Regions from separate parts of the Homo sapiens genome. Here all the other regions are linked to region 7. Evidence: promoter capture Hi-C in 16 types of primary human blood cells and fetal thymus (Javierre and others, 2016). All regions are on one chromosome and are shown on one strand. The core of a region is centred on a gene start or on the middle of the fragment in contact, and the rest is flanking DNA. Distances in the headings are between cores, read along the strand shown. Region 1 overlaps OCRL (OCRL inositol polyphosphate-5-phosphatase). Region 2 overlaps SLC25A14 (solute carrier family 25 member 14). Region 3 overlaps ZNF280C (zinc finger protein 280C). Region 4 overlaps OCRL (OCRL inositol polyphosphate-5-phosphatase). Region 5 overlaps ZNF280C (zinc finger protein 280C). Region 6 overlaps OCRL (OCRL inositol polyphosphate-5-phosphatase). Region 7 holds the start of UTP14A (UTP14A small subunit processome component).

Region 1 (2,700 bases), core at 201-2,700, 360 kb after region 7:
AGGATAACCTGGGATAGGATAAGTAATTACTTAGATAGAACTAAGGGAAATAAAAGTATTAATGCTGTTTTTCTGCTGTGATCCTTCTTGCCTAATTTGCAGGGGTTTGTACTCTAAGGTGATTACAGGAATATGGGGCAGGCCCCTTTCCATCTGGAAAGTTCATGAGTTGAGTGGAGAGTCCTATAAACCCAGATGGAAACCAGAAACCAGATAAAAGGCTGAGAAATCAAGGGTTAAGGAGGAAGAGCTTACTTTGAGGAAGATAAACACAAACCACTAAAATCTCAAAATACATAAACAAGAAATGGTGTTGAACATTAGCATTAAAGCTTCATCTGGACAGTACTGTTAAAAACTATTACAAAACAAATAAACTGAGAATTTAAGTGAATTTCACCAACATTTATTGAGTATTTACTACGTGTTACCCACTAAATTACAATAAAAGAGTAGGGCTAAGAATAAGCATAAAAATTCTGAGTGTAATTATTCATTTCAGAATATAAAGATTAGAAATAATTGGTATACAGCAAAACAATGGAATTCAGAATTTGGTAGTTGTCAAACAGAAAAGAGTGACAAATCCTGAATGCCAACTCTGCCTTATCCCTAGGAAACACTTTGATTTGTTCAAGGAAGGTTAAAGGTCAAACAGGTTTTGTCATAATCTATTATCCTTGAAAAATATGAATCTTAAGTGTTTGATTCCCTGTTTCCAAAAAAACCCTGATTTTTAATTGTAATTTTGGTCAAGCAAATTTCCTATGGTTGACAGTAGGAACCACAGACCTAAAGATTTAAGTCAGGCTTCAAGTTCTAGGATAAAAAAGCCAAAAGTAAAAAGTTCTGGACACTCGAGTCAGAAAAGACACCAGAGAGACAAGAATATGAGGATTACAGATGGTATTATGGTATTAGGTGTCTCCAGCAAATGCTTTCAAGAGAAACTTCTCAGTGTAATTCTGAGACATGTTACATAGGATCAGATCTCAGGTATTCTACTCCCTAATTGCAAACAAGTGACTTAACCTGTCTGTGCTTCAATTTCTGTATCTATAAAAGGGGGATGATGATATTACTATCTTATAGTAACCCTCACATGTGGATTAAATGAACTAACTAATGAAAAGGGCTTAGAACAGTACCTGGCACATAAGCAGCCATTGAATGTTAGTTATATAGCAACAACTATATTAGTTGTTAGTTATATGTTAGTTTATATATAAACTATAGTTTATATGTATTTAAAACTATAGTTTATATATATTTAAAACTATTTACATAGTTTATATATAAACTGCTAATATAGCAACAACTATATTAGTTGTTAGTTATATAGTTGTTATATAGTGTTACCTATATATTAATGTTAGTTATATAGCAGCCCCATACCCCCACATATACCCCCAACTATACCCCCATAACTTACACAGAATTGGAACACACGACTTCCTTATTAGCTCAACAGAGTTCCAAATCTACTAATCCGAGGGACTAGATTCTGGGCTGTGGTCATCTCAACAATGTAGCTACTCTATTCAATCTTCATGATTTTGTTTTTACATTAGAGGAAACCAAGGCACACAAGTTTTACTGGTTTGCCCAAGGGTCACCTCTCTGTAACCCACTCTAGCCTTTGGAAATGTTAGTGGTGTTCCACTTTTCTGCTGAATTTTGTTTTATTAAATTCTGAATTTAGTTTAGTTTCATTAAACTAGTCTTCCAGGGTTTGATGAAATCCGGGTTTGATGAACTTCCCAGTAGAGCTGACTAAGCAGGACCTATGAAAGAGCTACTTCACAGAATTAGCTGACATCCAGTTAGAGTGGCACCAATAGTCTCAGAGAAGAGCAGGTTGGGCCAGTGGGAATTTCTTCCGTGTAAATCTGACAGCATAGATACAGAGGATCTAAAAGTGGGGACTGAGAAAATTGGTTTTAGGCAGAAGCCAATGTTGGGAGATGGCAAGATTTAAGTGAACAATTTTTAAACTGGGAAGGAATATGATGTCAAGAAGCCAATGAATATCCAAGTGAGGTGTCTTGGGCACACAGGGATAGGGGCCTATGATACGTAATGGTCACCATGGATATTTTTGAGATAAGATATTAGTGACAATAGAGTGAGGTTAGCAGCTATGGTGATAGCTTATCAAAATAATCTTTTGATCAATCAGTCAACAGTATTTACGGAGCTCCTATGGCAGAGAGGAAGGTGACACACTGATAAAATACTGTCATTTCTATCTCTACACATTTCATTACCTTTTCTTTCTAACAGTAAAGTCAGTAAGTGAGGCAGTTTCTGGCCTACACTAAACCATTACTGAATTAATGAATATGCCTTCAACCCAGTGGGATAAGGGGACGGGGAGACTGGAGAAACCAGCTGAATAGGGTTAAGACAAGTCTGTAACGTTAACAATGAAGCATTTCCATAGCACTTTTACTTTTTGGAAGCCACTCTCGCATTTATTTTTCCCCCAGTTATAATTCCAAAGGCTGTAAGGTAAGGCAGTTAATGGTTTTATTAAACTGAAGAGTTAACTTTGGCCCAGAAAGCTTTATTGACTTGCCCAACGTTACACAACACATGTCAGTTGCAGGGGCAGGAACTAAGAACCCAGGCTTCCTGCTTCCCCGCCCATTCAGTCCTTCCACTGAGCCACACTGCCAAGCACAATCCAGAGGCTTGGAA
Region 2 (2,700 bases), core at 83-2,582, 440 kb before region 7:
TATTCTGGTTCTGAATTCAGAATATTCCAATACAGGCCAAAATATACCATGTTTAAAGCCAAATCTCACCCTGAATAGAAATATTAATAAGACAGGGAAAGACAGAGGCATTACAGACTTAAGATACCCAAATTGGTTACTAAAATAGGCTTCTCCAAGAACTGTATTTCAGTTTACCCCTCTGTTTGGCATCCCAGGTTATACCACAGGTCAACATACCATACCAAGATTTAGAATAGGTGGGGACGTACATTTCTTTTGTAAAATTGAGTAAGGGCTATTATGAACAGATTCATTCTCGTACCAGTTTTAGGATGGAGTACAAATGGATGTAAGAGATCTGGAAATTGATTCCTATAAAACTGCATAGCCCTTGGAAAGAACCTATAGGGTCTTGCATACCCCAGTGTGAGGACCAGTGGATTAACACATATCATAATAAACTGACTGCCATTTATTGAGCATCTACTACACCAAGTACAATGATAGGCAGTTTATATATATATTATCGCTAATCCTTTACAACTCTATGTTATAAACACTGTATTATATTCATTTTTCAAATGATGAAATTGAGGCTTAATGCAGTTAACTGATTTGCCCAAGGTTCTACAGCTGGCAAGTGACAGAGTGGGAATCTGAACCCAAATCTGACTCAAAGTTATGCTCCTTTCAAATCACACTGTATCTCTCTTACCTTTAGAACATCGGTGGGATTGGCTATAGTGGAAGATATCACTCCTGACACTACCCCACAGATCATATTAATTAAAAGAGTTTCATCTGTGAAAAGGAAAAGAAAAAGAAAGGTCTGCTTGTATTAGGCACCAGTTTGAGTACATACTACTGACCTACTGGAGGAAGGGAAACTTGGTTAGAGAGATGACTTTAGAAATGAACCAAAAAGCTTAGGAAAATAAAGAAACTCAAATATTTCTAGATCTCAATTCAGTGCTAAAATATATTAAAACTTGTAAAATATAAATCATTTCTAAAAACATCATTATTTCTAAAGGACACTGGAACACGTCCTTTTCTTCTACATAACTATCAGTATCCCACACACAAATTCAGAAGGTGGTATTTCCCCTTCGACCTTTTCAAACATCTAAAGAACATACTTTTTAAGTCTTTTTCTGGGTAATCATCAACTCTAAAGATTCAGGAACTGAATGTTAAAAGAGAAAATCTTACGTCTAATACAAAAAACTTATTTGAATATTAATTTTGATAGGCCTGAGATCTCTCCTAGCCTCTGTTAATTTATAAAATATTTCTGTAGTCAAATATGAAAAAGCAATCATTTAGAACTAAATCTCCTCAGTGAGAAAAAAGAACAAAGAAACCACAGAGCACATTGTTCTATAGTGAAATTCAATCTTTACCGCTCCTTCACACCATGAAGACCCCACAAATAGAAACTAAATAAACCCAAGTGAAGAATCTATGAAAGAAAAATATTTCAGAAAGAGGTGGAAGAGAACCCTTCACAATCCCCAAAAAAAGGCTTCAGAAAAAGTTGACTTTAGGACAATAAAGTGATTCAAAGGACATTACTAACCGAAAGGCTTTCCAGCTGTCCCCAAACATCCAACAGCCCCAGGCCTGTGGTAAAATAACCATTTAGTGTAGTATCATGATGGAAAATGCTACAGCAGCAAACAGACATATGATAATGCTGAATATGCATAAGGTAGCCAAAGGTACATCAGAATTTAGAAAACAGCCTAAAATTATTCTGCCTAATAAAAGCTTATCAAAATTGCCAGCTAGAAAATGCCTTACAGTTGAAGTCCTCTTATTGATGAAGATAGCATTAATTTTCTGGACAAGATTGTTCCATGTTTCTTTTGGGATGATCACATGCCTTTTTTGTTGATAGGAAAAGGGACAAATTTGAAGAACAGGTCTCTCTAATTCATATATCACCTCTGCAAAGATTTATTCCAAGTTAGAACAAGCTCACTTTGTCTTTGCAGTGACTCTCCTCCATTCTCAGGCACCTCATGACCAACATTTCTCACTAAGCATGATTTCAACAATCCCTTTGAGTATCACCTCAAAAGAGGGTAAGTATACTGACCTTCTAAACGTTCTACGAATAAGCGCTTCAAGCTTTGGTAAATCCCAATTTTAATGGTGCCATATGATGCTTGTCTTAGCAACGCAGGAGCAATTCTGAAAAAAAAAAAAGTAAAAAGTTATTCTCAACATTTTCAGATTATACATATCTAGATAGCCTACTTATTTGGACTACCCATCTCATTCTACCCAACAACAGCAGAATATGATTTTTTTCAAGCACTCATGAAACACTCAGCAAGAAACTGAACATTCTGGGTCATAAAACCAACCTCAACAAATTTAAAAGAACTGAAATCATATACAATATGTTATCTGACAATAATGGAATCAAACCAGAAATCAATAAGAAAAATCCTCAAACATTTAGAAATTAAACAATATATATCTAAATAATCTATTGGTCAGACCAAGTGTCTGTCAAAGGAATTTTTTTTTAATTCACAGGTCTAAATGACAACAAAATTCAACCTATTAAAATGTATGAGATGCAGCCAAAGCAGTGCTGAGGGAAATTTACAGCATGAAATGCTTGCATTTTAAAAAAAAAAAAGGGGGGGGGGGGGTAGAGTCTCAAATCAATAATCTATGCTCCTACCTCAAGAAACTAGAAAAAGA
Region 3 (2,700 bases), core at 106-2,605, 320 kb before region 7:
CTCCATACTAACCTTATTTAAAGCTCAAATTTTTCCATTTTAAAATAAATTGCAGGCGTTTACCAAAACCAAAGAGAAGTGTTTTGGAGGTGTGAAAAAAGATAAAAACCCAAACCTTCACAATGATTGCTATGTAGGTTGATGACATTATCACTTTGTTTCAAGATTATTTTCTTTAGTGATTCATAATAATTGTAAGTAGTTGACCCAGTCTTAAAACTGTTGTTTACATTGAATAACTTTACTTTGAAATTCAGCAAAAAGTTTTAGTAAGCCCTTTGAAAATGGTATGTCCATTTATATTGTACTCTCTGCCATTGAACATCATAGTTCCTTCTCTTCAGAAGCCTTTCAGAGAAGCTAAAATAGCAGAAGGTAAAACTGAAAAATAGACAGTGCTACAAAGGGCACAGCCTGCTAAGAAAAATGAATAGTTTGTGCTAACAGTAAGCCAGTATAATTAGATAAAACAAAAGGTTCTTGTAATTATAGTCATTAAAATTGCTATTGCATGCATTTAGAAACCAAGACACAAATAAAAATATACCAGCAGTTTGTCTTTTGAGCAGCTGAAACCTTCAGAGCTTTCAAAGATTTGTCTCTTCACTGTAGCTGCTTTTGGTGGTAGAGTTTCCATCCTTTCAGTATTTTATTTTAAAATGTAAATAGTATTTCATGTATGGAAAAGAAGCCTGCTATTTTTCTTTGCTAAAAAAAATTTTAAATCTAAAATAATGATATAGTGTTACAGCAAATTAGTGATGTTTCATACTACTACATTAATGGATTATTTTAGAAACAAAGATAAAAAAACCTTACTGAGCCACTTAATGAAAGTAAATTATTTAAAGTACACACTTTATAGAGTGCTTTCAGGCCTTGGAGATGTTATTTTGAGTCATAGAATTACATTTTAAAAATTTATTTTCAGAGACTTATTTGTGAGGTTTTTCTTTGGTTATAAGTCTGAATTTTTGCTCTTACTGGCAAATTGTTTGTAGGTTTATGAACCACATGAAACATCACTTGGAACTTGAGAAGCAGAACAATGAAAGCTGGGAAAACCACACCACCTGCCAGCACTGTTACCGGCAATATCCCACACCCTTCCAACTGCAGTGCCACATTGAGAGTACACACACTCCCCATGAGTTTTCTAGTAAGTGAAAGTTTCTTTGGAATCCTGAATATTGTTGACTTTGATCATCCGAACTGTGAGGAAACCTTAAAAATTCTGGCAGAAAAAAATAAGAAGTAGACTTTGTAATATGAGGGCAAAATTGAAAAAAAAAATCATAACTTTTATAAACCTAGATGAAATGTGTTCTAAAGCCAGGTGTGATGGTGCATGCCTATACACCCAGCTACTGAGGAGGCTGAGGCAGGAGGATCACTTGAGCCCATGAGTTCAGTACTATAGAATGCTATGATCAATTGCACCTGTGAATAGCCACTGCACTCCAGCCTGGGCAACATAGTAAGACCCTGCCTCTACAAAAAAAAAAAAAAAAAAAAAAAGTAGAAGAAAAAAACTGTTAAAATTGAAGTCCCTTGGTCGGGCGCAGTGGCTCATTCCTGTAATCCCAGCACTCTGGGAAGCCGAGGTGGGTTGATCACCTGAGGTCGGGAGTTAGAGACCAGCCTGACTAACATGGAGAAACCCCATCTGTACTAAAAATACAAAATTAGCCAGGCAAGGTGGCGCACGCCTGTAATCCCAGCTACTTGGGAGACTGAGGCAGGAGAATCACTTGAACCCAGGAGGCAGAGGTTGCGGTGAGCCGAGATGGCACCATTGCACTCCAGCCTGGGCAACAAGAGCGAGACTCCATCTCAAAAAAATAAAATAAAATAAAATAATTGAAATCTTTCTTATAAACAATTCATTAGTGGAAACTTCCTTGGCACATGCATTGGTGTAGGGGACTAAATTAGAACACCCAGATTCCATGGTTTTCAAATTTGAAGTTAATTGTCTTGATTTACACTTTAGACAAAAGTTAACTACAATGTTAAGATTTAGAGTCTGAGACGCGGACAAATTTGGTTCAGATTCCAACTTTGCCTCTTACTACAGCTGTGAGATCTCAAGCAAGTTTCTTAATTTTTCTGTGCTTCTGGTTCCTCATCTGAAAAATAGGAATAAAAATAACAGTACCTTCCTCAGTGATGTTACGAGAATTAAATAAGCTAATATATCCTTGGAACAGCATTACAGAGTCAACAGCTATAGAATTGTTAGAACCACATCACTGTTACTTCTACTATTATTATTACTTGTTGTGGATGTACAAAATGAATCTTTTTTTATATACATCCTTAAATGGTATAATGTGTTTTTTTCCACTTTCAGCTATTTGCAAAATCTGTGAATTATCATTTGAAACAGAGCATATTCTTTTACAACATATGAAGGACACCCATAAACCTGGTGAAATGCCATATGTTTGCCAGGTACACACACATTTTATTGTGTAGTTAAGTGTTTGTTTAATTTTCATGTGCCATGAAATAGTATTGTTCTTTTGATTTTTTAAAGCCATTTAAATAAAATTAGTTACTATGCTAAAATTGAAGACCCTCTTCATTAGTGGAAACCCCCTTGGGTTTAACTCATGCATTGTAAGTAAAGGGGTGGAGTAGATTTTGCCTGTGGGTTGTAGTTTGCTGACCTCTGTGCTAGATGAGGAAATGCCCTAC
Region 4 (2,700 bases), core at 201-2,700, 340 kb after region 7:
TCCCCAATGACTCTACTCTCTATATTAATTTTTTAAATTTTATTTTATTATTATAAGTTTTAGGGTACATGTGCACAATGTGCAGGTTAGTTACATATGTATACATGTGCCATGCTGGTGTGCTGCACCCATTAACTCGTCATTTAGCATTAGGTATATCTCCTAAAGCTATCCCTCCCCGCTCCCCCCACCCCACAACAGTCCCCAGAGTGTGATGTTCCCCTTCCTGTGTCCATGTGTTCTCATTGTTCAATTCCCACCTATGAGTGAGAACATGCAGTGTTTGGTTTTTTGTTCTTGCGATAGTTTACTGTGAATGATGATTTCCAATTTCATCCATGTCCCTACAAAGGACATGAGCTCATCATTTTTTATGGCTGCATAGTATTCCATGGTGTATATGTGCCACATTTTCTTAATCCAGTCTATCATTGTTGGACATTTGGCTTGGTTCCAAGTCTTTGCTATTGTGAATAGTGCCGCGATAAACATACGTGTGCATATGTCTTTATAGCAGCATGATTTATAGTCCTTTGGGTATATACCCAGTAATGGGATGGCTGGGTCAAATGGTATTTCTAGTTCTAGATCCCTGAGGAATCGCCACACTGACTTCCACAAGGGTTGAACTAGTTTACAGTCCCACCAACAGTGTAAAAGTGTTCCTATTTCTCCACATCCTCTCCAGCACCTGTTGTCTCCTGACTTTTTAATGATTGCCATTCTAACTGGTGTGAGATGGTATCTCATTGTGGTTTTGATTTGCGTTTCTCTGATGGCCAGTGATGGTGAGCATTTTTTCATGTGTTTTTTGGCTGCATAAATGTCTTCTTTTGAGAAGTGTCTGTTCATGTCCTTTGCCCACTTTTTGATGGGGTTGTTTTTTTCTTGTAAATTTGTTTGAGTTCATTGTAGATTCTGGATATTAGCCCTTTGTCAGATGAGTAGGTTGCGAAAATTTTCTCCCATTTTGTAGGTTGCCTGTTCACTCTGATGGTAGTTTCTTTTGCTGTGCAGAAGCTCTTTAGTTGAATTAGATCCCATTTGTCAATTTTGGCTTTTGTTGCCATTGCTTTTGGTGTTTTAGACATGAAGTCCTTGCCCATGCCTATGTCCTGAATGGTAATGCCTAGGTTTTCTTCTAGGGTTTTCATGGTTTTAGGTATATTAATTTCTTTAAAACTAATCATTTTCTACCACCACATCTACTCCTCAACACATCTCTGCTTCTATGCTTATTAAATCCCATTCTTCACTGACCTCTCTCTGCTGCCCCTGTTTTTAATAAGCACAGCCATTAAAAAGAATAATGTAGATCTATATATACTGGCTTGGAAAGGAATCCACAATAAATAGAATAATACAGTCTTATACACCAAGTACCTATGTGTGTGTTTGTATATGAATAGACAAAAGGCTAGAATAGTGCTATTTAATAGAATTATAATGCACCTCACAATATAATTTTAAGTTTTCTAGTAGCTGCATTTAAAAAGAAAAAAAACAAGTGAGTATCAATAAATTTCATTTTACTCAATATATCCAAATTATTTCAACATGTGATCAATATTTTAGAAATCAAGATATCGTACATCTTCTTCCTAAGTCTTTAAAATCCAATATATAGCTTATGCATACAGCATATCTTAATTTGGACCAGTCACTTTCAGGTACCTAACAGCCATATATGGCTACTGGTTGTCATATTGGACAGTACAGATCTAAAAGGCTACACACCCAACTGTTAAGAATGGTTTCCTTTGGAGAGAGGGACTGGCTAGGTAGAGAATAAGAAATGAGGAAATTTAACTTCTAATTTTATCTTTTATTACATTTGCAATGAATATTTCTATTTTATCATAAAAACAATAAAAACTGACTCCAACTACAGACCCTCCAGCATTATTCTAGGTGCCCCACTAATAGAACTATCTTTTCCTCTGATATCAAGTCTAATTTCTCTGCCTCAATGATTCTGTTATTACTCAAAAACCCTCTCCTTTGTGACCCCAATCCCTCACTGGTAATCTTTCACTCTTCACAGCTCTACAGTATCTCACATTTAATCTCTACACTATCCAAACTCCTGTAGCCACTACTCAAAGGCTACAGGTGAGTTAACCACTTACTCATGTTTCATGATGTTCAACTGCGGGAGGGTCTGATTTGGGACCACAAAACTCATTCTCGCACAAATGTCCTTATAATCTTGATTCCTTCTCTCAAAGTCCTCCACGTGTGCAGCCAGATGGGAATTGACAATGCAAAAGGTGGTGTTGTGAAATACAAATCTCACAGCTACCCCACCTTTGTTTCCCTGTTAGCAAGAGTAATTATTCAATTAGTACACAGAACAAGCAACTGAACTTTACATGAACATGAATAATAATCAAGCTCATTTCCAAAGTAACTCACCATTTTCCCCATGATTCCAGTTCCAACTGTTTCTGTAGCAATATCACGAATGTATCGACACTGATCCTTTCTGGCAAATATAAGAAGCATCATCCCAACAAGGCGCACCAGTTGAACCTATGAGTTCCGGGGAGTTACAAAAGGTTAATGTTAATACCAATCTTTGCCACATTTCTAATGTCCCACGACTAATTTTCCATCAAGATGATATACTAGTGCCCAAATCTGACTTCATATCCTCTAATTTCTCAGTGGACCCCGTCAAGTGGAAACTAATATTCTCTG
Region 5 (2,700 bases), core at 49-2,548, 350 kb before region 7:
TTATTCTTATTTTTTTTTGGAGATAAGCCCTTACTCTGTTGCCTAGATTGGAGTGCAGTGGCACCTTCATGGCTCACTGCAGCCCCACCTCCTGGAGCTCAGGTGATTCTCCCACCTCAGCTTTCTGAGTAACTAGGACTTGAGTGCACACCACCATGCCTGACTAAGCTGTTCTTTATTCTTGTTTGTTTGTTTGAGTGAGACTCTCCATCACCCAGGCTAGATTGCAGTGGCAGGGTCCTATCTCAGCTCACTGCAACCACCGGCTCCTGGGTTGAGGCGATTCTTGTGCCTCTGCCTCCCAAGCAGCTAGAATTACAGGTGCGCACCACCATGCCCAGCTAATCTTTGTATTTTTAGTAGGGACAGCGTCTCACCATGTTGTCCATGCTGGTCTCGAACTCCTGGCCTCAAGTGATCCACCTGCCTTGGCCTCCGAAAGTGCTGGGATTACAGGCCTGGGCCACCACACTCAGCCACCTGGCAATTTCTGATATTCTGAAATTTCATATGTCCCGCTAGTGTAGTTTTTATTCTTGATCATTGTGCTGGCTGTTAGTGGGCCCTTTCTTTCTGTAGATTTATATCCATGAGAACTAGGAATTTTTTTTGTATTTTCCTTTGATTACTTCTCCTCTCCTTTTTCTCTCTCTTTTTTTTTTTTCTGGAGCTTTTGTTAGGTGCATTTTATACCTTTGAAAATGATTTTTCGGCCGGGCGCGGTGGCTCACGCCTGTAATCCCAGCACTTTGGGAGGCCGAGGCGGGCGGATCACGAGGTCAGGAGATCGAGACCATCCCGGCTAAAACGGTGAAACCCCGTCTCTACTAAAAATACAAAAAATTAGCCGGGCGTAGTGGCGGGCGCCTGTAGTCCCAGCTACTTGGGAGGCTGAGGAAGGAGAATGGCGTGAACCCGGGAGGCGGAGCTTGCAGTGAGCCGAGATCCCGCCACTGCACTCCAGCCTGGGTGACAGAGCGAGACTCCGTCTCAAAAAAAAAAAAAAAAAGAAAAAAAAAGAAAATGATTTTTCTACCAATCTTGTTTTCTGTGTTTAATATATGTGTTTTTTGTCTTTTGGTTTCACATTTACTCAACTTTGACATTTGACTTTTTTTTTTTTTTAACTGAATTTTGGCTGTCTTTATATAATATCGTTGTCTTATCTGTCTAAAGATGTTTATTATATCCTATTATTGTCTCTTGCTCTGTATTATCTGTGTCTTCTTTTTTTAACTTTTATTTTAAGTTCAGGGATACATGTGCAGGTTTGTTATGGGTACACTCATGTCTTGGGGGTTTGTTGTATAGGTTATTTCATCACTCAGGTATTAAGCCTAGTACTCATGAGTTATTTTTCCTGATCCTCTCCCTCCTCCCACCCTCCACCCTCAAGTAGGCCCTCAGCATCTGTTGTTCACCTCTATATGTCCATGTGTTCTCATCATTTAGCTCCCACTTATAAGTGATAACATGTGGTATTAGGTTTTCTGTTCCTGCATTAGTTTGCTAAGGATAATGGTCTCCAGCTCCATCCATGTTCCTGCAAAGGACATGACCTTGCTCTTTTTTATGGCTGCAAAGTTCTCCATGGTGTATATGTACCACATTTTCTTCATCCAGTCTACCATTGATGGGCATTTGGGTCGATTCCATGTCTTTGCTCCTGTGAATAGTGCTGCAGTGAACATATGTATACATGTGTCTTTATGATAGAAGAGTTTACATTCCTTTGGGTATATACCTAGTAATAGAATTGCTGGGTCTAATGGTAGTTCTGTTTTTAGCTCTTTGAGGAATCACCACACTGTCTTCCACAGTGGTTGAACTAATTTACACTCCCACCAACAGTGTATAAATGTTCCTTTTTCTCTGCAACCTCCCCAGCATCTGTTATTTTTTTGACTTTTGAATAGCCATTCTGACAGGTGAGAGATTATATCTCAGTGTGGTTTTGATTTGCATTTCTCTAATGATCAGTGATGTTGTGCTTTTTTTCATATGCTTGTTGCCTGCATGTATGTCTTCTTCTGATAAGCATCTGTTCACATCCACTGCCAACTTTTCAATGGGGTTGTTTGCTTTTTTCTTGTAAATTTGTTTAAGTTCTTTATATATGCTGGATATTAGCCCTTTGTCAGATGCATGATTTGCAAAATTTTTCTCCTGTCTGTAGGTTGTCTGTTTACTCTGTCTCTAGTTTCTTTTGCTCTGTCTATAGTTTCATTTAATTAGAGCCCATTTGTCAATTTTGGCTCTTGTTGTAATTGCCTTTGACGTCTTTGTCATGAAGTCTTTGGCCATTCCTATGTCCAGAATGGTATTGGCTAGGTTGTCTTCCAGGGTTTTTATAGTTTTGGGTTTTACATTGAAGTCTTTGATCCATCTTGAGTTGATTTTTGTGTATGGTGTAAGGAAGGGGTCCAGTTTCAGTCTCTTGCATATGGCTAGCCAGTTATCCTGGCACCATTTATTGAATAGGGAGTCCTTTCCCCATTGTGTGTTTTTGTCAGCTTTGTCGAACGTCAGATGGCTGTAGGTGTGTGGCCTTATTTCTGGGCTCTCTATTCTGTTCCATTGGTTTATATATGTGTTTTTGTACCAGGACCATGTTGTTTTGGTTATTGTAGCCCTGTACCATTTGAAGGCAGGTAGCATGATGCCTTCATCTTTGTTCTTTGTGCTTAGGTTTGTCTTGGC
Region 6 (2,700 bases), core at 23-2,522, 320 kb after region 7:
AGTTCCTCATACCTCCCCAGTGACTCCCAACCTGGATTGTTTCGAATCTGACTATGGACCACTAAGCACTCAAGTCTAAATTACATGTCTTAGTTCTGCTAGGTAAAAGGAGAAATCCCAATCTTACTGTCTGAGATGCACAGGAGCTGGGAGTGGAGAGGGAGGAGGAAAAGTATGTGCTCCCTGGCATTCCTAGTGGTAATACTGAATGCATTCCTCCCACACTACTGTTATCCATGGGGATTAGGCGTTTTAATATTGGTAGATACTTCACGAATTAAACATGCTTTTGTGGGTTTATCTAGACTCTTAAATATCACATGAAATAAAGCAATTAGAATAGTCTTTATAAGGTACATATTTATAGTACTATAATTACGATACCTTTTAATGTCAAGTTGATTTTGAGTGCCCAACATCTGATACAATTTTAGACTAGAACCTCTTGTAAAATTTAGGACTTGTTATCAAATGAAGAATCTATCTGACACATTTTATATTTTTCCTCCCATGAATATCTAATACATGATATGAATAAAACTAGACAGAGATTTTGTATACTAACCTGTCGAACCAGGCTCTCAAAAAAGTTTTCTTTAAGCAGCAGCCATCCTCCAGTACAAGGCATTGTGCTAAAATGCCTTTGCAGGGGAAGGCAATGAGAAATGAGGATAAAGGAGAAAGACCTGGTTTGTCCCTGACTCTGATTTGCAACTGAGTTGGGGTGAGGAGTTCCAGAGTTTACAGACTGGTATTGTTATAATTCATGAATACGAGTTCTCAATAAATCATTGCTAGCCCTTTAAAAGACTCACAGAATTTTAAAGGGTAGAGATGGGGAGAGAATATTACAAGTGGAAGAGGCAGAAATAAACAAAAGGCACAGAGACAGTAAATCACAAATTGATATTAGGAAGAAGTTAGTCATCTGTTTGTGGGGGGCATGGAGAATGCCAAGAAAAATAGTGTGAAATAAATCTGAAAAGGTATGTTGAAGTCAGACTTAGGAGGACCTTGCATGACAGATTAAGGCATTTGGATTGTATTCAGCAGGCATGGGGAAGCCACTGACTACCTTTAAGCAAGGAAGTGATAGGCCCCAAAGCAGTAGTACAGAAAGATCAATCTGACAGCCCTGAATAGGAAAAAATGAAGGGCAGAGACAGAGACAGAGAGAGAGAGAGAGAGAGAGAGAGAGAGAGAGAAAGACAAAGGGATCATTCAAAGGCTACCGAGGTAGGTCAAGCAGAAGAAGGTAAACATCTTAATAATGGAAAATTTTATACACACACACACACACACACACACACAGGTGTGTGTATATATATATATATAATTTCTAAGTATATATATTAAAGGATATATATATATAATAAAAGGTATATACATACACTTACAAATGAATGAATACAAGAGAAAATTCTGAAAGAAGAATCAAAAGGACTTTGATTAAATACTGATGGAGGGACAAGAGATTTACTTCTCTAGGTACAGGCACAAAGAAACAACATAGAAATTACATTGAATTCAACCTTGGTCTCAATTTTGAAAACAGAAGCATCACTTAACCTTTATTAGTAAACAGCTTACTCCTATAATAATCCTAAGGTTTCTACTATGAATCACTTAGTTCAACCAATTTTAAAGAGCAGAGATGCCCATTCTCTGCAAAAGGCTATATATGGATTACATTTAAAAAGAGAACTTAGTTCAGGATTTCCCCAGTGGGACAACACTGGCACATAGCAAATGCAATGCAAATCATTCTTTACCCCAACATTCACCCTCAGAAGACTGTTCCCCGTGGTAAATGCAGCTAAAATAAAAGAGTCAATTAGAGGTGGAAGATGCAAATTTAAAAATAAAAAGCATAGCCGGGCACGGTGGCTCACGCCTGTAATCCCAGCACCTTGGGAAGCTGAGGCGGGTGGATCACCTGAGGTCAGGTGTTCAAGACCAGCCTGGCCAACACAGTAAAACCCCATCTCTACTAAAAAGGCAAAAATTAGCCAGGCGTGGTGGCGCGCGCCTGTAGTCCCAGTTACTCGGGAGGCTGAGGCAGGAGAGTCACTTGAACTGGGAGATGGAGGTTGCAGTGAGCCAAGATTGTGCCACTGCACTACAGCCTGGCCGACAGGGTAAGACTCCATCTCAAAAATAAATAAATAAATAGCCGAAAACTGAATGGAAAATGAAGTTCTAAAAAGGATTAGTTCATATGAAATAGAGAAGAAATACAAGCCATATACTTAACAGAGTAAGAAATGGATGGTTAGATTAGTAAGACAAAGTAAAAACATAGTGAAAAAAACACTACGGACAAATTAACAAGTTATTCCTGTTATTTCAAACTTTTGATATTGTTCTCCCAACAGATATGTCCCCAAGCAAATATAGTTTCTCTACCCATCCCTCAACTTTTTTCATCTCCGTATTTACAACTTAGCCACATCTGGCAAGTTCAAGTCTTGTCTCCTTTCAATTAGTCCATTCTACAAGTAACACCAGAATGTTCTTCCAACTATATCAATTTGCAACCTCATACTAATCAGCAAACCCTTCTGATGGTTCTAGATACCCTCTGGCTCATGCATAAACTTATCTATTGACTTCAAGACTCTCTACCACCTGCCCCATTCTCCCTAACCAGCTTCATACATTCTTATCCTTGATCTTCACTTGTCCCAGGGAAATCTTACA
Region 7 (2,709 bases), core at 96-2,595:
ACCCTTCCATTCCAGGAATGTGCTCTCTACCCTAATTTTGAAGGCAGTTTAGCAATTGTCACCCACCTCATCTTCACTCTCACTCAAGAGGTAGTCTTTTGGCAAATCCGCTAGTTCTTCCTGTTGGCTCAAAGCCAGAAGGCTGTTAAAAGAGGCAACAGAGAAATGTGAATGCAATATACCCATGTAACAAACCTGCATATGTATCCCTTAATTATAATAAAAGTCGAAATTAAAAAAAGAAATATTATTATTTGAAGCAATGTCTAATCTATTAAAACAATCTCGAAAACATTGTAATTTCAGCACAGAATAGCCCTATCCCTCAGAAGATATATAAAGCAGCGTGAATGCCTTTGGAAACTTGTCAAGATGTGAAATTTAGACTGAAGTCAGGCATCACCTCCAAGAGTGATGCCTGACTTCAAAACTGCATGTAAAAGAGCTATCACTTTTCAGGGATTGGCACAACATTTCCTATGACCTATGGGAAGCTGTAAAAATGTCAGACCCTAGAATAATATGGCCAAAGACGCTGTTGCTAGCTAGCCCTGGAGGCAAGGCAGTTTCACGATTAATATTTCTAAGCATCCTCCATATATTTGACTCATTGATAGGCAGCCTAATCAAAAGTGTTATCTTGATCCTTGTTCCCAGGAATGGAGAAACAGGTCGAAAGCAGCTGGGTAAGCCACTTTCCCTGGGGCTTGCTTAGTAAAGTAGGTGCTTAACTAAGGAGATTGGTACCCACAAACAAATTATAAAATGTACCATTACCTAACAGCATATATTATTAGTATTTGCAAAGCCAACATTACTAAACGGACTACATTTAGTTCCGGGGGCGGGGTGGGGGGGGCACAAAACATCACAGGAGCCAAAACGTGGTGGATGACTCCAATCAGCAAAGCTTTCCAAGATTCGGGGAGTTTATAACGCCTGCACTGCCTGCGCAGAGGATTAAATCGGGCCGCGACAGAGGCAGAAAAAGGGGCCACGTGACGAAAAATGTGAAACACAGTAAATGAGCTGGGGAGGCAGAAACAGCATCAGGACCAACAGGGATGCGGCTATACAGCTGAGGAGCGGAGTAAGCGAATGAAATTAAATTAAAAGGGCTTTAAAGGCTGGATCGCGGAAAATAGGAACGAATGGCCAGCTCTTCAGGGGAACCACTGCCATCTGTTAAAGGGGGGGCTCCCATTTCCCAAAAGCTGGGGAACCCGGCCCCCAACGAGACCCAGAATCCCCCCTCCCCTCGTTGCCCTTCACCTCTCTGCAAGCCGGTTCGCAGTCATTTCAGCAGCCAGCTTCTCTCACATGGACCAAGAACGGAAGCCGAAGGAAAGCAATTTCCGTGCGGGCCGCAAAGCAATTTCTGTTTCCGTCAATCGCTCGCGACGTACACGTCACTTCCGTTCCGTACGAGGCGTGAGAGAAGCAGGAGCCGTGTAGGGAGGGGCCTGCAGAAAACTGGGAGGCCTGAGATGAAACGGCTGTCAGCGGGTGGGGCATTCCTTTCTCCACCCACCCCGTATTTCTCTGGCGCGCGGGTGTCTGTCCTCCTGGCCCCTGGTTTCCACGTGGCCCAAGGTGGGTTAGCTTAGGGCGACGGTGCTGCGCTCTCAGGGGCTGAGCCCGCGCCTTCATTCGTCACTGCAGAATCCAGAAGGAAAGACTACAGCGCCCGTCCTTGTGCGACGGCGTCCTGCAAGCCGACCACAAGCCAGCTCGGGGGTTTATTGAATGCCTATTAAGTGGCCAGATTGTGCCGGGCCCCGGAGATCCGATGGTGAACATAACAAGTTTCCTTCCATTTAAGGAAAAATCGCCTTTGATCCCTTGTAATTGCAGCTTTGTTCTTCATTTCCTGAGTCAAAAGATTTTTTTTATCCAAGAAGGGGCCATCAGTAACTACGCTTCCTCACCTCCCATCAACTTAAAAAAATTTTTTTAAACAACTTTTTTTCTCCCATCAACTTTTAAGAATTTTATTTATTTATTTTTGAGACAGAGCCTTGCTGTGTCGTTCAGGCTGGAGTGCAATGGCGTGATCTCAGCTCACTGCAACCTCCACCTCCCGGGTTCAAGCGATTCTCCTGCCTCAGCCTCCCGAGTCGCTAGGATTACAGGCACCCGCCACCATGCTCGGCTAATATTTGCATTTTTAGTAGAGACGGGGTTTTGCCACGTTGGCCAGGCTGGTCTAGAATTCCTGGCCTCAAGTGATCTGCCCGCCTCGGCCTCCCAAAGTGCTGAGATTACAGGTGTGAGCCACCGGGCCCGGCCTAATATATATATATATTAATTAATGATTGTAGAAAAATAATAGACAAGAACATTCTTTTCATTTTTTTTTTTTGAGACGGAGTCTCACTCCGTCGCCCACGCTGGAATGCAGTGGTGCGATCTCAGCTCACTGCAAGCTCCGCCTCCCGGGTTCACACCATTCACCTGCCTCAGCTTCCTGAGTAGCTGGGACTACAGGCGCCTGCCACCACACCCGGCTAATTTTTTTTTTTTTTTTAAGTAGAGACGGGGTTTCACCGTGTTAGCCAGGATGGTCTCGATCTCGTGACCTCATGATCCACCCGTCTCGGCCTCCCAAAGTGCTAGGATTACAGGCGTGAGCCACGGCGCCCGGCCCGTTCTTTTCATTCTTGTAATCCATTCCCATTTTGCTTTTGCCCCATTATTCCACAGAAATTG

What was found. Contacts are between HindIII fragments. The CHiCAGO score rates a contact against its expected background, and 5 or more counts as called.
Region 1: a contact is called between a fragment that was not itself captured here and the fragment with the promoter of UTP14A in region 7, in 5 of 17 cell types (M2 macrophages, monocytes, naive CD8 T cells and 2 more). The highest score is 7.5, in M2 macrophages.
Region 2: a contact is called between a fragment that was not itself captured here and the fragment with the promoter of UTP14A in region 7, in 2 of 17 cell types (non-activated CD4 T cells and activated CD4 T cells). The highest score is 7.4, in non-activated CD4 T cells.
Region 3: a fragment that was not itself captured here is called in contact with the fragment with the promoter of UTP14A in region 7 in 1 of 17 cell types (naive CD8 T cells); the score reaches 7.3 in naive CD8 T cells.
Region 4: a fragment that was not itself captured here is called in contact with the fragment with the promoter of UTP14A in region 7 in 2 of 17 cell types (neutrophils and monocytes); the score reaches 9.8 in neutrophils.
Region 5: a fragment that was not itself captured here is called in contact with the fragment with the promoter of UTP14A in region 7 in 2 of 17 cell types (activated CD4 T cells and non-activated CD4 T cells); the score reaches 11.3 in activated CD4 T cells.
Region 6: a fragment that was not itself captured here is called in contact with the fragment with the promoter of UTP14A in region 7 in 11 of 17 cell types (M2 macrophages, activated CD4 T cells, monocytes and 8 more); the score reaches 9.4 in M2 macrophages.

Annotation. Positions count from the first base shown.
Region 1 is chrX:129,540,990-129,543,689 of GRCh38, reverse strand. All of the region lies in intron 2 of OCRL (OCRL inositol polyphosphate-5-phosphatase), which reads right to left. Among named protein-coding and RNA genes, the nearest start is that of OCRL, 2.1 kb to the right of the region's middle. The HindIII fragment of the contact is 2,232 bases long and covers 335-2,566 here.
Region 2 is chrX:130,348,729-130,351,428 of GRCh38, reverse strand. SLC25A14 (solute carrier family 25 member 14) reads right to left here. Exons shown (of 11, transcript NM_001282195.2): 5 at 2,084-2,178; 6 at 698-783. Among named protein-coding and RNA genes, the nearest start is that of SLC25A14, 10 kb to the right of the region's middle. The HindIII fragment of the contact is 845 bases long and covers 910-1,754 here.
Region 3 is chrX:130,227,436-130,230,135 of GRCh38, reverse strand. It overlaps ZNF280C (zinc finger protein 280C), which reads left to right. Exons shown (of 19, transcript NM_017666.5): 10 at 1,002-1,159; 11 at 2,354-2,454. Among named protein-coding and RNA genes, the nearest start is that of ZNF280C, 40 kb to the left of the region's middle. The HindIII fragment of the contact is 3,165 bases long and covers 1-2,700 here.
Region 4 is chrX:129,562,216-129,564,915 of GRCh38, reverse strand. It overlaps OCRL (OCRL inositol polyphosphate-5-phosphatase), which reads right to left. Exons shown (of 24, transcript NM_000276.4): 11 at 2,416-2,532; 12 at 2,130-2,317. Among named protein-coding and RNA genes, the nearest start is that of OCRL, 23 kb to the right of the region's middle. RefSeq lists an enhancer at 1-10. The HindIII fragment of the contact is 3,992 bases long and covers 1-2,700 here.
Region 5 is chrX:130,253,451-130,256,150 of GRCh38, reverse strand. All of the region lies in intron 2 of ZNF280C (zinc finger protein 280C), which reads left to right. Among named protein-coding and RNA genes, the nearest start is that of ZNF280C, 14 kb to the left of the region's middle. The HindIII fragment of the contact is 5,205 bases long and covers 1-2,700 here.
Region 6 is chrX:129,580,337-129,583,036 of GRCh38, reverse strand. The region is part of intron 18 of OCRL (OCRL inositol polyphosphate-5-phosphatase); the gene reads right to left. Among named protein-coding and RNA genes, the nearest start is that of OCRL, 41 kb to the right of the region's middle. The HindIII fragment of the contact is 3,432 bases long and covers 1-2,700 here.
Region 7 is chrX:129,904,800-129,907,508 of GRCh38, reverse strand. It overlaps UTP14A (UTP14A small subunit processome component), which reads right to left and starts at 1,345. Exons shown (of 15, transcript NM_006649.4): 1 at 1,273-1,345; 2 at 67-142. The coding sequence starts at 1,298. It overlaps LOC105373335 (a long non-coding RNA gene), which reads left to right. Exons shown (of 3, transcript NR_188631.1): 3 at 1-245. The HindIII fragment of the contact is 20,573 bases long and covers 913-2,709 here.